Linked DNA regions of Homo sapiens: region 1 is linked to region 2. Evidence: promoter capture Hi-C in 16 types of primary human blood cells and fetal thymus (Javierre and others, 2016). All regions are on one chromosome and are shown on one strand. Each heading gives the region's core, a stretch centred on a gene start or on the middle of the fragment in contact. The rest is flanking DNA. Distances are from core to core; before and after follow the strand shown. Region 1 has its middle 31 kb from the start of KIZ-AS1. Region 2 holds the start of NKX2-4 (NK2 homeobox 4).

The links. Contacts are between HindIII fragments. The CHiCAGO score rates a contact against its expected background, and 5 or more counts as called.
Region 1: a fragment that was not itself captured here is called in contact with the fragment with the promoter of NKX2-4 in region 2 in 3 of 17 cell types (activated CD4 T cells, megakaryocytes and total CD8 T cells); the score reaches 6.3 in activated CD4 T cells.

What each region holds. Positions count from the first base shown.
Region 1 is chr20:21,246,793-21,252,520 of GRCh38, forward strand. No RefSeq gene overlaps it. Among named protein-coding and RNA genes, the nearest start is that of KIZ-AS1, 31 kb to the left of the region's middle. The HindIII fragment of the contact is 168 bases long and covers 3,249-3,416 here.
Region 2 is chr20:21,395,830-21,401,962 of GRCh38, forward strand. NKX2-4 (NK2 homeobox 4) reads right to left here and starts at 1,697. Exons shown (of 2, transcript NM_033176.2): 1 at 1,129-1,697; 2 at 1-704. The coding sequence starts at 1,570. The coding sequence ends at 82. It overlaps LOC105372558 (a long non-coding RNA gene), which reads left to right and starts at 2,105. Exons shown (of 4, transcript XR_001754528.1): 1 at 2,105-2,747; 2 at 3,434-3,537. The HindIII fragment of the contact is 6,496 bases long and covers 1-4,332 here.

The DNA of each region.
Region 1 (5,728 bases), core at 2,083-4,582, 150 kb before region 2:
CCATCAAAATTCAAGGTGGTTTCTATGTTAGAAATTAGCCAGCTGATCTTAAATTCATATGGAAATTCAAGAGGCCCAGAATAGCCAAAACAATCTTGCAAAAGAAATACAGTTGGGAGGCCGAGGCGGGTGGATCACTTGAGGTCAGGAGTTCAAGACCAGCCTGGCCAACATGGTGAAACCCCATCTCTACTAAAAATACAAAAATTAGCTGGGCGTGGTAGCATGCACCTATAATCACAGCTGCTCTGGAGGCTGAGGCAGGAGAATTGCCTGAACCTGGGAGGCAGAGGTTGCAATGAGCCGAGATCACGCCACAGCACTCCATCCTGGGTGACAGAGCAAGACTCCTTCTCAAAAAAAAAAAAAAAAAAAAAAAAAATAGAGTTAGATTTCTCACATTTCCTTATTTCAAAACTTACTGAAAAGCTACAGTAATTGAGATACTGTGGTACTAGATAAACAGAAATCAATGGAATATTGACTCTGTTGATTCATATGTATCTAGAATTGAGAATACAAAAACACTGTCACATTTAGTCAATTAATTTTTGACAAGGGTAACAATTTCTGCTACTCAATGGGATAAAGAATAGCCATTTCAACAAATGATGCTGGGACAAATGGATAGCCACATGGCCAAAGAATGATCTTGGATCCCTACCTCACACTGTATACAAAAATTAACCAAAATGGATCAAGAACCTAAATGTAAGAGCTAAAACTACAAAACTGTGTTAGAAGTAAACATAGGTGGCCAGGCATGGTGGCTCATGCCTGTAATCCCAGCACTTTGGGAGGCTGAGGCAGGCAGATTGCCTGAGGTCAGGAGTTTGAGACCAGCCTGGCCAACGTGGTGAAATGCTGTCTCTACTAAAAATACAAAAATTAGCCAGGCATGGTGGCAGGCACCTGTAATTCCAGCTACTTGAGAGGCTGAGGCAGGAGAATTGGTTGAACCTGGGAGACGGAGGTTGTAGTGAGCCAAGATTGCACCATTGCACTCCAACCTGGGCGAACCCAGGAGACGGAGGTTGTGGTGAGTCAAGATTGCACCATTGCACTCCAACCTGGGCGACAAGAACGAGACTTGGTCTCAAAAAAAAGTAAACATAGGTGTAAGTTTCTCTCACCTTGGATTAGGCAACAGTTTCTTAGATATGACCGCAAAGCCTTAGATGTGGTTGCAAAAGATACCACCAGGAAAGTTAAGGCCAGGTGCAGTGGCTCATGCCTGTAATCCCAGCACTTTGGGTGGTCAAGGTGGGTGGATCATTTGAGATCAGGAGTTCGAGACCAGCTTGGCCAACATGGTGAAACCCCATCTGTACTAAAAATATATAAAGCCAGGCGTGGTGGCACGCACCTGTAGTCCCAGCAACTCAGGAGTCTGAGGCAGGAGAATCACTTGAACCCAGGAGGCGGAGGTTGCAGTGAGCCAAGAGAGCACCACTGCACTCCAGCCTGGGTGACAGAGTGAGACTCCCATTTCAAAAAAAAAAAAAAAGAGTGAAAAGACAATCTATAGAATGAGGAAAGTATTTGCAAATTATACATCTAAAAATGGACTTGTATCCAGAAATACATAAATAACTCTTATGACTCAATAATTTAAAAAACCCCGATTTTGAAAATGGGCAAAGGATCTGAATAGATATTTCTCCAAAGAAGATATACAAATGGCCAATAAGATGCATGGCATCATTGGTCTTCAAGGAAATGCAAATCAAAACCACAGTGAGGTACCCCTTCATGCCCTCTAGCATGACTGGAATCAAAAAGTCAGGTAACAGAAGTAGTGAGGAGGTGGAGAAATCGCTGGCAGGGATGTGAAATGGTGCAGCAGCTTTGATAAACACTCTAGTAGTTCCTGAAAAGGTTAAACATAGAGGGATTATGACCTAATGATTCTACTCCAAGAGAAACAAAAACATATCCACACAAAAACTTGTACAGGAATATTTATAGAAGAATTATTCATAAGAGCCAAAGAGTAGAAACAACCCAAATGTCCATCACTTATAAATGGATAAACAGAATATCCATACAGTAGAATATCATTCCTCAATAAAAAGGCATGGAGTACTAATCCATGCTACAACATGGGTGAACCTTGAAAACATTATTCTAAGTGAAAGAAGTCACTCACAAAAGACCACATAATGTCAGATTCATTTCTGTGCAGTGTCTAGGACAGGAAAATCCATAGACAAATGAGTAGTTGTCTAGGCCTGGGGTCGGGAGAGGAGTGACTACTGATATGAGGGATTTTGGCAGGGATAATGAAAATGTCCTAAAATTCATTGTGCTGATGATTGTATAATTCTGTGGATACACTGAAAACCATTGAAGTGTACACTTTAAATAGGTGAATTATATGCTCTGTAAATTACATGTCAATACTGTTTAGAAAAAGGAAATTGGTAATTCATACATCTTGGGGTGTAGTGACTACAGGCAACTCTTGGTGCAACACTTTCTCACTTTTAAATGGTCACTTTAGTCAATGTCAGAAGTTAATTGTGCAACTCAGGAGCCTGGGACTCATGGTGGGTCATGTGACTACTCTGGCTTCCTTTGAGCCCTCAGAATCTCTGAAATTGAAATGATTTTTAAAGCATTGTGTGTATTTTGTTTTTAAATCACCTCCTGCTTGTCACTTACCTACTCAAGAACTTGGGAGATGTCTTTGATTCACTCCTTTATTCTCCCTTCTTTCCACTCAAATTACCAAGGCCTTTCCTATCTCTTCCCTGCCATCATCACCATCCCCATCTGAGCCTTCACACCTGAGTTTCTGCAGCAGGTGTCTTGATATTGCCCTTGGCAACTAAGAAAAATCCTGCCATGGGTTTCCTTTTTCTTTCTTCTTAAAAAGGTATAACTTGGGTATTATTAATTTGCTAATAATAAAATAGCTGCTATTTATTGAGCACCCTATTATAACCCAGACACTTTGCTTGCTCAGCATAGAAACCAACTCAAAGCTGATGTAGAGACTAGGAATCTGCATTTTTAGTGATTCCTGTGGGAATCACTGTTCTAGAAAGACAGCTATCTACTATGAGGAAATAAATCCAACTCTGAAATCCATGTTTTTATCCATTTGATGGGAGGCAAGGAATGTTGGCTGTTTGGTTTTTTGTTGTTGTTGTTTGTTTTGTTTTGTTTTTTGTTTTTCTTCATTATGTTGTTCTGGCTTAGTTGTTCTAATAAAATATTTCATTCTTTGGTTTTTAAAACTTTTAAGCTTTATACTACAGCGTTATTTTTCTATATTCTCTCTTCCCTATCCACAATTATTAAATAATGGGAGTTGACTCTAATGGTAATTCTCCACATAAATAAAGGGGGTACTTTATGGCTCAAAGCACACGATGGAAAGATTTAGAATCACGCTATTTTAGGACTGGAAAAGCTTTTAGAGATCACATGGTCTTTGAATTTTAGAGTCAAAAAGGACATTATTCATCAAAACTTCTCATTTTAGAAAACTTGGTCAAAAGTGATACATAAATATGGCAGCTAAGTGAAGAGCAATATAGATACTAACTTGTCAGTAGACACTAAGAAGACAAAGAGAAGCGTGCCTGGCAAGGATTGAAGTTAAATGGAAAAATGTGGCTTGCATTGGCCAATGCAATGTGAACACAAGTAACCAATGCCACTTTTGGTTAGAAGCTTTAGTGCTATGTGTGATTCTCTCCTCTTTCCTGCATCAGCAGCCATGGCAGCATGGGACAAGTGGAGCCTCCATCAGCCTGGCTGCATCAGTGACTAGGAAGAGCAGACCTCCCCTGCTAATCATGTTTGCACCACTGGAATTGGCAGGTTGTTACCACAGGAAAATTCTGGTCTATCCTGACCAATATACTATTCTTCCATTTACGTATACTCTTTTTTTTTTTTTTTTTTTTTTGAGACAGAGTCTCACTCAGTGGCCCAGGCTGGAGTGCAGTGGCAGGGTCTCAGCTCACTGCAACCTCCACCTCCCAAGTGATTCTCCCGCCTCAGCCTCCCGAGTAGCTGGGATCACAGGCATGCGCCACCATGCCTAATTTATATATTTTTAGTAGAGAGGGTTTCACCATGTTGGCCAAGCTATTCTCGAACTCCTGACCTCAAGTGATCTGCCCGCCTCTGCGTCCCAAAATGCTGGAATTACAGGCATGAGCCACCACGCCCAGCTATTTATGTATATTCTGATTAGGCCACGTGTAATTTAATTTTGGAGTGGTGAGACTTGCAAGGTTTCCTAAATGCTCACTGAATAAACATTACACCTTTGAGATTTTTTTAAAGAAAATTTGATTCTGAATAAAGAACATATTTTTTCCTTTTTCCAGTTAAGAACCTCAAGTATCTGTGGTTAGACTATTTCTAAATGAAGTGGTAACAATTACAGTTGCAGAAGGTGAGGAACAAGTTGCACACCTTGGGGCAGGGATTGGGGGACATTTTTAGAACTGAGCTGTGGTAGTCAATAAACGGGAGTCTGTTGACAGGAAAACCTCCAGAAACCACAGCCTGCGGGGAAGCCCTCTGTGGTTTCTGGAAAGCAGGCACAGCATCTGGAGCATTTCCCTGGGTATTTGTATGTATCTCCACTGGAAAGTAGCAAATGAACTGGGTTCCTCCAACCATCTGACCCAAGAGGTAGAACTGAATTCTCCCTCCTCCCCCCATTTCTAATGTGGGCTGGACTTAGTGACTCACTTCCACAGAATAGAGATGGAAAGGGGGAAATAGTAATGGTACAGTGGAGAAACCTGCCTGACACCACCTTACGTGATGAAGGTTAACACCCATGAGTCATGACTCGTGTGGATATCTGGAACCCTGACATGCTGCCGGGAGACGGGCACTTCTCCTCTATAGTGTTCTTTCTGAAAAATCTTAACCACAGCTTAATCATGAAAAATATCAGATAACCTTGGGACATTTGACAAAACACCCAGCCATTACTCCTCAAAACAGACAGTGTCATGAAAACCAAGGAAAGACTAAGAAACTTTCACAGACCAGAGGAGAAAGAGACATGACAACTAAAATGCATTGTGGGGCCCTGGTGGGATCCTCGAACCAAAAAAAGGACATTCACGGAAAATCTGGTGAAATGTGAGTAAAGTCTGGAGTTTAATATTAATGTACCATGTTGGTTTCTTAGTTTTGACAAATGTGCCACAGCAATGTAAGATGATAATATTAAGGGCAACTGAAACTGGGCTAGGGGTATATAAGAACTCTGCATTATCTTTGCAACAAATCTAAAATTATTCCACATAAACTAACCTCCATCAATAAATGTTATTGACACTTGGGTGATACCCTTTCACACTTTTTCTGTGCACATATGCTTTTTCATTCTCTTAAACGTTTCTATTTTTAATCTCAATGTTACCAGGCTTAAAAGATTGATACCCACTAAGAAAACAAAACAGGCCTTCAACCAGGGCACTAACTTGCTATTTGTCAGCAATGCTGATGGGGTATACAGAGTCCTACATCTTAACATCTTTTACCTACAGATCACATGCTGCACTGATGATAGTCCAGAAGAAAGCCTAGGTTTGCTGCTAGTCTTTAAAACTTTGCTAACCATTTTCTTACTTTGTAGCAATAGAGTAGGCCTAGGACCCCACACTAGTAGCAAGCAAAATTTTCCAGCTACAATTTAACCTTTCTTTTTTCTTTTTAGTTACTTTCTATTTATCTCAAATGGCTCTGG
Region 2 (6,133 bases), core at 447-2,946:
GCATGCCTCCCCCATCCGTTCTAGCAGTTTCTTGCAGACCCTTCGGGTGCACCAGGACCTAGCCCCGGGGCGCCCTCGCTGTCACCACGTCCTGCCATAGAGCAGGTTGGCGCCCAGGACGCCGCCGCTGTACTCCCCGGCGGCCGCGTCCAGGGCCGCCAGGCCGCCCCCCGGGCCGTGCAGCGCGGGTGGGCTGGGCGACAGCTCCTCCAGCTCAGGTGCTGGCGTCGGGGCCGGCGGCTGCGGACCGGCCTGGCCGGGGGTGGGCGTGCTGGCGCCGTTCTGGCACGGCTTGCCGTCCTTGACCAGCACAGGCACCGCCACGCGGCGCGGGGACGGCGGCGGAGGCGGCGGCGGGCCCAGGCCGCCCTCCTGCTGCAGCTGCTGCGCCGCCTTGTCCTTGGCCTGCCGTTTCATCTTGTACCGGTGGTTCTGGAACCAGATCTTGACCTGCGTGGGCGTCAGGTGGATCATGCTGGCCAGGTGCTCGCGCTCGGGCGCCGACAGGTACTTCTGCTGCTTGAAGCGCCGCTCCAGCTCGTAGACCTGCGCCTGCGAGAAGAGCACGCGGCGCTTCCTTCGCGGAGCGGCTGCCGCCGCCGCCGCGTGCAGCGGGCCCAGCGACTTGGCGGCGTCCGCGATGCCGGTCAGCGACCCCATGCCGGCCACATTCACGCCCGCCGACGGCCCCATGAACCTGGAGACTGGGGAAGAGTCCCAAGGGGGAAGGCGAGTGAGCTCCAGGCCCGCCGGGAGCCGGTCCAGCCGCCGCTCTCTTCACGCCGCGGCCGCGACGCCGCCGGGCCCTCGCTGAATCCCAAGACCCCCTGACCGCCGCGGCCTCCGGCCCCAGCACGCCCCGCGCGCCCTCGGCGGGTCCCAGAGCACCACGCCCTCAACGGGTCCCAGGACGCCGCGCGCGTTCCCGGTCAGGTCCCAGGACCCCCCGCGCGCCCAGGGTCCCCAGAAACCCCGCGCGTCCCGGGCCGCGTCCCAGGACGCCCCGCGCGCCCGCTCGGCCCCAGGACCTCCTAAGCCGCGCGCACCCCGTCCCGCGCCCCCGCGCCCCTCGGCTGTGGCGGGAAACGCCTGAGCCGCCCGCAGCCCCGCGCTCCTGGCCCCTCTCACTTGACGAGTAGCGTGGGTCCGGGTTGGCGCCGTACCAGCCGGTGGCCGCGCCGCCCCGCATGCCGTCCGTGTAGGCGGGCAGCTCGCCCATGTTGCCCAGGCCGCCGTTGCAGTAGCTGCCCATGGCGCCGTGCGGGAACTGCGAGACGCCGGGCGGCATGTGGTAGGTGGCGGCCGCCGCCGCCGCAGCTGCTGCCGCCGCCGCCGCGGCCGCCGCGTTGTGACCCGCCATGGCGTGAGAAGGCTGCATGCCCGCCACGGTCGCCGCCTGCGAGGAGGGCCCAGGTGGCGGCGCGCGGTAGGCGGCCGCGGCCCCCAGGGGCGCCCCCAGGCCGGGTGGCGCGCCGTCCATGGCGCCGCTGAACTTCTTGTAGGTCTCCTCGATGGGGCTCAGGATGTCGGACACGGAGAAGGGCGTCGTGTGCTTTGGGCTCAACGACATGGCTCGGCGGGCAGCCAGGTAGGGGGGCCTGGGGCGCGCGCCGGCAGGACGCGGCGGCCGCTCGTCGCCGCCACCTCGGCCGCGGCAGCTGAGCCTGTGACGAGGAGTCGGCGGCTCGGCGAGCCCCCCGGGCTGCGGGATCTGGGGTTTATTTTAGTCCGGCGCCAGGTTTACGACAGACTCGGGGGGCGGAGCAACATCCCAAACGAGCAAACAATGGTCATTGACATCTTTTTCTCTCGCCCCCCCAACCCCCGCCCCATAATGGAGGCAAAAAAAGGTAAAAGGGGCAGTTGGGTGTTTCTTGGAAAGATCACTCCCCGTTGCTTTTCCCATCTTTGCTTTTCCCATCCTTTGCTTTTCCCATCCTTCGCTCCTCCATCCGCGGCCGTTACCCCAGCCCTCGAGCACCAGAAATAGAAACTCGGAGGCTGGCGTCGAGGCTAGACATGGACTCCGCGCCTGGCCCCTTCCAGATCCCAGTTTTCTAAAGTGACTTCGCACCAAAGTCCGGTATAATTGCGGAATGGGGAACGTGCTGCTAAGTTTGGGGGGAGGGTGTTGCGGGGGCTTGCTTCGTCCTCTCCAGTTATCAGCCCCTCATTCGCTCCATCACCTAAAGTGTTAAAAAAAAAAAAAAAGGCTCTTGGGTCCCACCGTAAGAGCGCATAAAGAGAGGAGGTACAATGACCGTCCTTTGCCATTGTAGGGCTCCCTAATTTATGCGTTTTTAGACCCTTAAGCATCATTTTGTGGGCAACCAAACGGGCACTTCCAAATTAGCTCAAAGTATCCAAGCCCAGAGAAGAGAGAAAACACACATACACTGATAAATACGCAGATGCTAACTTGTAAGTATTCTGTTTTTCCTCTGTGGGGATGGAAATTGAACAAGGGAAAGAGGGGGAACATTTTTATTTCCTAAAATGTTTCCTACTGAGTTTGCACTTGTAAAGTTTTTTCTGCTTTCTTTCCCTTTGTGTGTGTTCTTACTCTCTTTCTCTCAGTAAATATCTCTGACTTAAGTTTATTCTCCCATCACTACCGTGATCAAAAAGAAGAGAAAGACAAAATATCAAAACTTCCAAATATTTCTAGTTGTTCGCAACGGGTCTTTTTGTTGTTGTTGGAAAAATATAACCTGTTCAAGCGATATGAAAATGGATGCAGAAATCAGGTGAAAATTGTAGTTTCTTTGGAAAAATACAAAACCATAGATAAACAGATTTTTAAAACTTTGTCATCCTTTGACTTGCAGTTTTACCCGAATACTTAGACATTATGAACTCTCTACTAAATACTGAACAAGACAAAGCATAAGACAAAAGCAGTGTGCAAAGCATATTGATTAAATTTTGAAAACAATCTTGCAGCAATAATAATGATAACGAGAAAACAAAGATAACACTTTTAAGTTTTCCTGGAAACTGGAGCAGGAGAAAGAAAAACAAGGAGAGTGCTTTCTTAAGCAATATTTTGTTTTATTTTTTTTCCAGAAAAGGGTGTGTGGAATCGATTTAAGTTTAACCTGACAGTACATGTCTTGAAGGCAAGAACAGTGTTACATATTCCTTTTTCTGTTTGGTTTTAGCCCTTTGGTGGAAATGTTCTCCATGGTTTTGTTCTTAGGATTTTAATAATTGTTTTGTTCAACTCAGTATGGTTTTGCAAAGAATCTGCCCTTTCTAGGGGGGAAAAAGCCATAGGTCACCTGTGGGAAGGAAGTGACAGACGAATGTTAAGAGTAATGTTTTAATATACTGTAAAAATAAAATGCAAGGTTACAGGAATTGTTTACAAACATCAGTATTGACTTAGCAAGATTAATATTGCTACAGTTTTAACACGATGCTACTTTTACAGGTCTTTTATGAACTTGAAACACATCGGCTAGGTCTTCATCCTCACCTGCACTGGAATTACCTACTTAAGAAAAACAAACTAATGATACACAAAGAAGCACTTATGTATGTATTTAAACACTTGCTGGGATCCTTCTGAAAACTACAGTTTGAATTTTACGTTTCCGGTTTAGTTTAAATTGTATTGTTTACTTGTATGTATTAGCTTAAATAAAATAATAGTCATTTCAAATGTTTCTCAGAGACAACAGGGTAAGTAAAAAATAGTTGTGTTATGACATCTGTGAATATAAAAGTTATTTGTGGCCCATTATATTTTATTTTTCAAGTTCAAACGTATTTCAAATATGAAACGCATTATCATAATCTCCATATTGATTAGTTGTCCAAGTTGAAAAGTGTTTACAATTTTAATTTTTTCCAGATGATTATTACTCTGTTTTCAGGCTATAAATTTCATCTCATGTAATTTTCTTTGTAGAACTTTGACATAGCAGTTAACATCAAGTGGTTGTACTACAATTTTTGCTTATTTTGTTTTTCAACTGCATTGGGTCCTGTTATAAGTGCATATACATCTGGAATGCTTCCATCTTTAAATTAAAAGCACTTTATCACATCTGAAGGTTCTCTGCAGAGAGTCACTTTCTGACTGCTTAGGAACTTGATAAGCCAAATAGTATTCCATCACTGTAGGTAAACAGTTCTGGGAAAGAAAAATCTACAGTCTTTGACAATTCTTCCTGTCAATTGTTTGTACCTCATTCTAGAAATTACATATCTTCATGCCGGAAACACTATTTGGATGCGTGTGGATGATTCTGAAAATTGATATAGTCTGAAGGATGTATATGTACATTTATATATAGACACAATATAACCCAATTGATATTCCATTGAAGCTTTGTATTCATTTCATCAGATTATCGTGTACCTAAATTATGTGTGGAAATTTATACTTAGTAGATTCTCAAATATTATTGGCTAAACTGCATTTCACAGGAAATGTATTTCTCAGGAGTGTTTTCTCATTGTTTTCCTTAAAAAACAATGCTGGCACCCAGCAAAATAATAAAATTAAAAAATAAAATAAAATGCAAATACTGCCTAAGGGAATACAGTGAAAAGAATTGGTTCTCACTCTCCTATCCTTCAAGGCTCCTAGTTCTTCGCCTCAGAGGAATTTGGTGTTACCTGTTTCTTTTGGAATGGCCTGTCCATCTAGAAGCATACTACCATTTTACACACAAAAGATAGCATGCTCTATGTGATTTGGTACCTTGCCTTTTTCATAGTTTAGGTTTTTATAGTTTCACACATTGCAACATTGAAAACAGACGAAGATAGGCTGTGGCAGATACAGAAATTTTTTCTAGACAAAAAGACAAGATTTCTCTAGACAAAACACTCCTGGCTTTCTGGCAAAAATGTGGTATTTGTTGAAAATCTCTGATGTGTTAGATAGCCTTAGTGCCAAAAATATTTAGCAAAAAAATTCTAAGGAAAGAGCCTTCTGCAGTTTGGATTTGCTCTTGGCAGACAGAAGCTCAGCGAAAGGGACCTGAGAGGAGTTGAGAAACTTCTGACATACCCACTTTGAAGTGGGGGTCCAGCCAGTACTTAGAGGGAAATATTGTTTATCTAGGTGGTGAATAGGTTTTCAGTGGGTCTTGTATTTCCTCATCAAGACTGTTTGAAAATATAACTTTCTGCTTGATACCCAAAAACGTAAGTGCCTTTTAGAACTGAGACACTTGCTACATTTGCAATTAGTTTAAACTAGTTGTGCAACAATTTGATTAATAAGTTTTATGTTGTGGAAGTAGCCTTAAAATATTGTCTTTGCAGTTGGGAAGGAATAAAGAAACATCTTAAGGATACTAGTATTTTGCAGCAAAATTTGAGGTTATAAAGAGGAAAATAAAACTGCCATAGAGATGAAACACAAAGTTTATTTGAATTATTTTACTTTTTTTTGCTAAATTCATCAGTTTCTGAGATCTGGTTCTCATTTCTTTTTAGTCCCTTTATAAGCCTTTTTCCAATAGTGTTCATTTCAATTATTTTAAATGTCTTACAGTAATTTTACACTTGCATTTATAAGGCTTTGTTATTTCTATGTGACACAGTAATCCTTTCATATTTTCTTCACAAAATACAAACTCCTGGCAGTTTACTCAAAAAAATCTTGTGATCCTTTTCCTGAGATTCAGATATTTTAGACTGAAAATTGTTTTCTGACCAATGATAATTGGTATCAATAAACACATTTTAAGCTAACACAATTGTTAGTACAGTGTGAGAATGAATAGTAGGTAATCACATTTTGTTGTCAAAATTATTATAATATGGTCCAATGAAATGATTCCTCCTCCCATCCCCCTAAGGAAAAAAACAAACAAGAAACCTCCCCTTCTAGGGTCAAGCTGTAACACTATAGTTTTTACAGTCAGAGTAGAGAATAACACTGGGCTATAACAGGGGAGTAAAAATAGGGAAATTATCCAGTGTGTCCCAATTCTCTCACCCTAGGATTAGGAGCTTGAGCCACAAATTCAAATTTTTCTATGTTAAAAATCATTTTTTAGAGTAATAATACATGTATGGGAAAAACAATGGCAATATTGAAATATAATTTTTTATTTCTGAATTACAAGTTTATTGTATATTTTGTGTATATAGAAAGTTTAAAATATTTTGG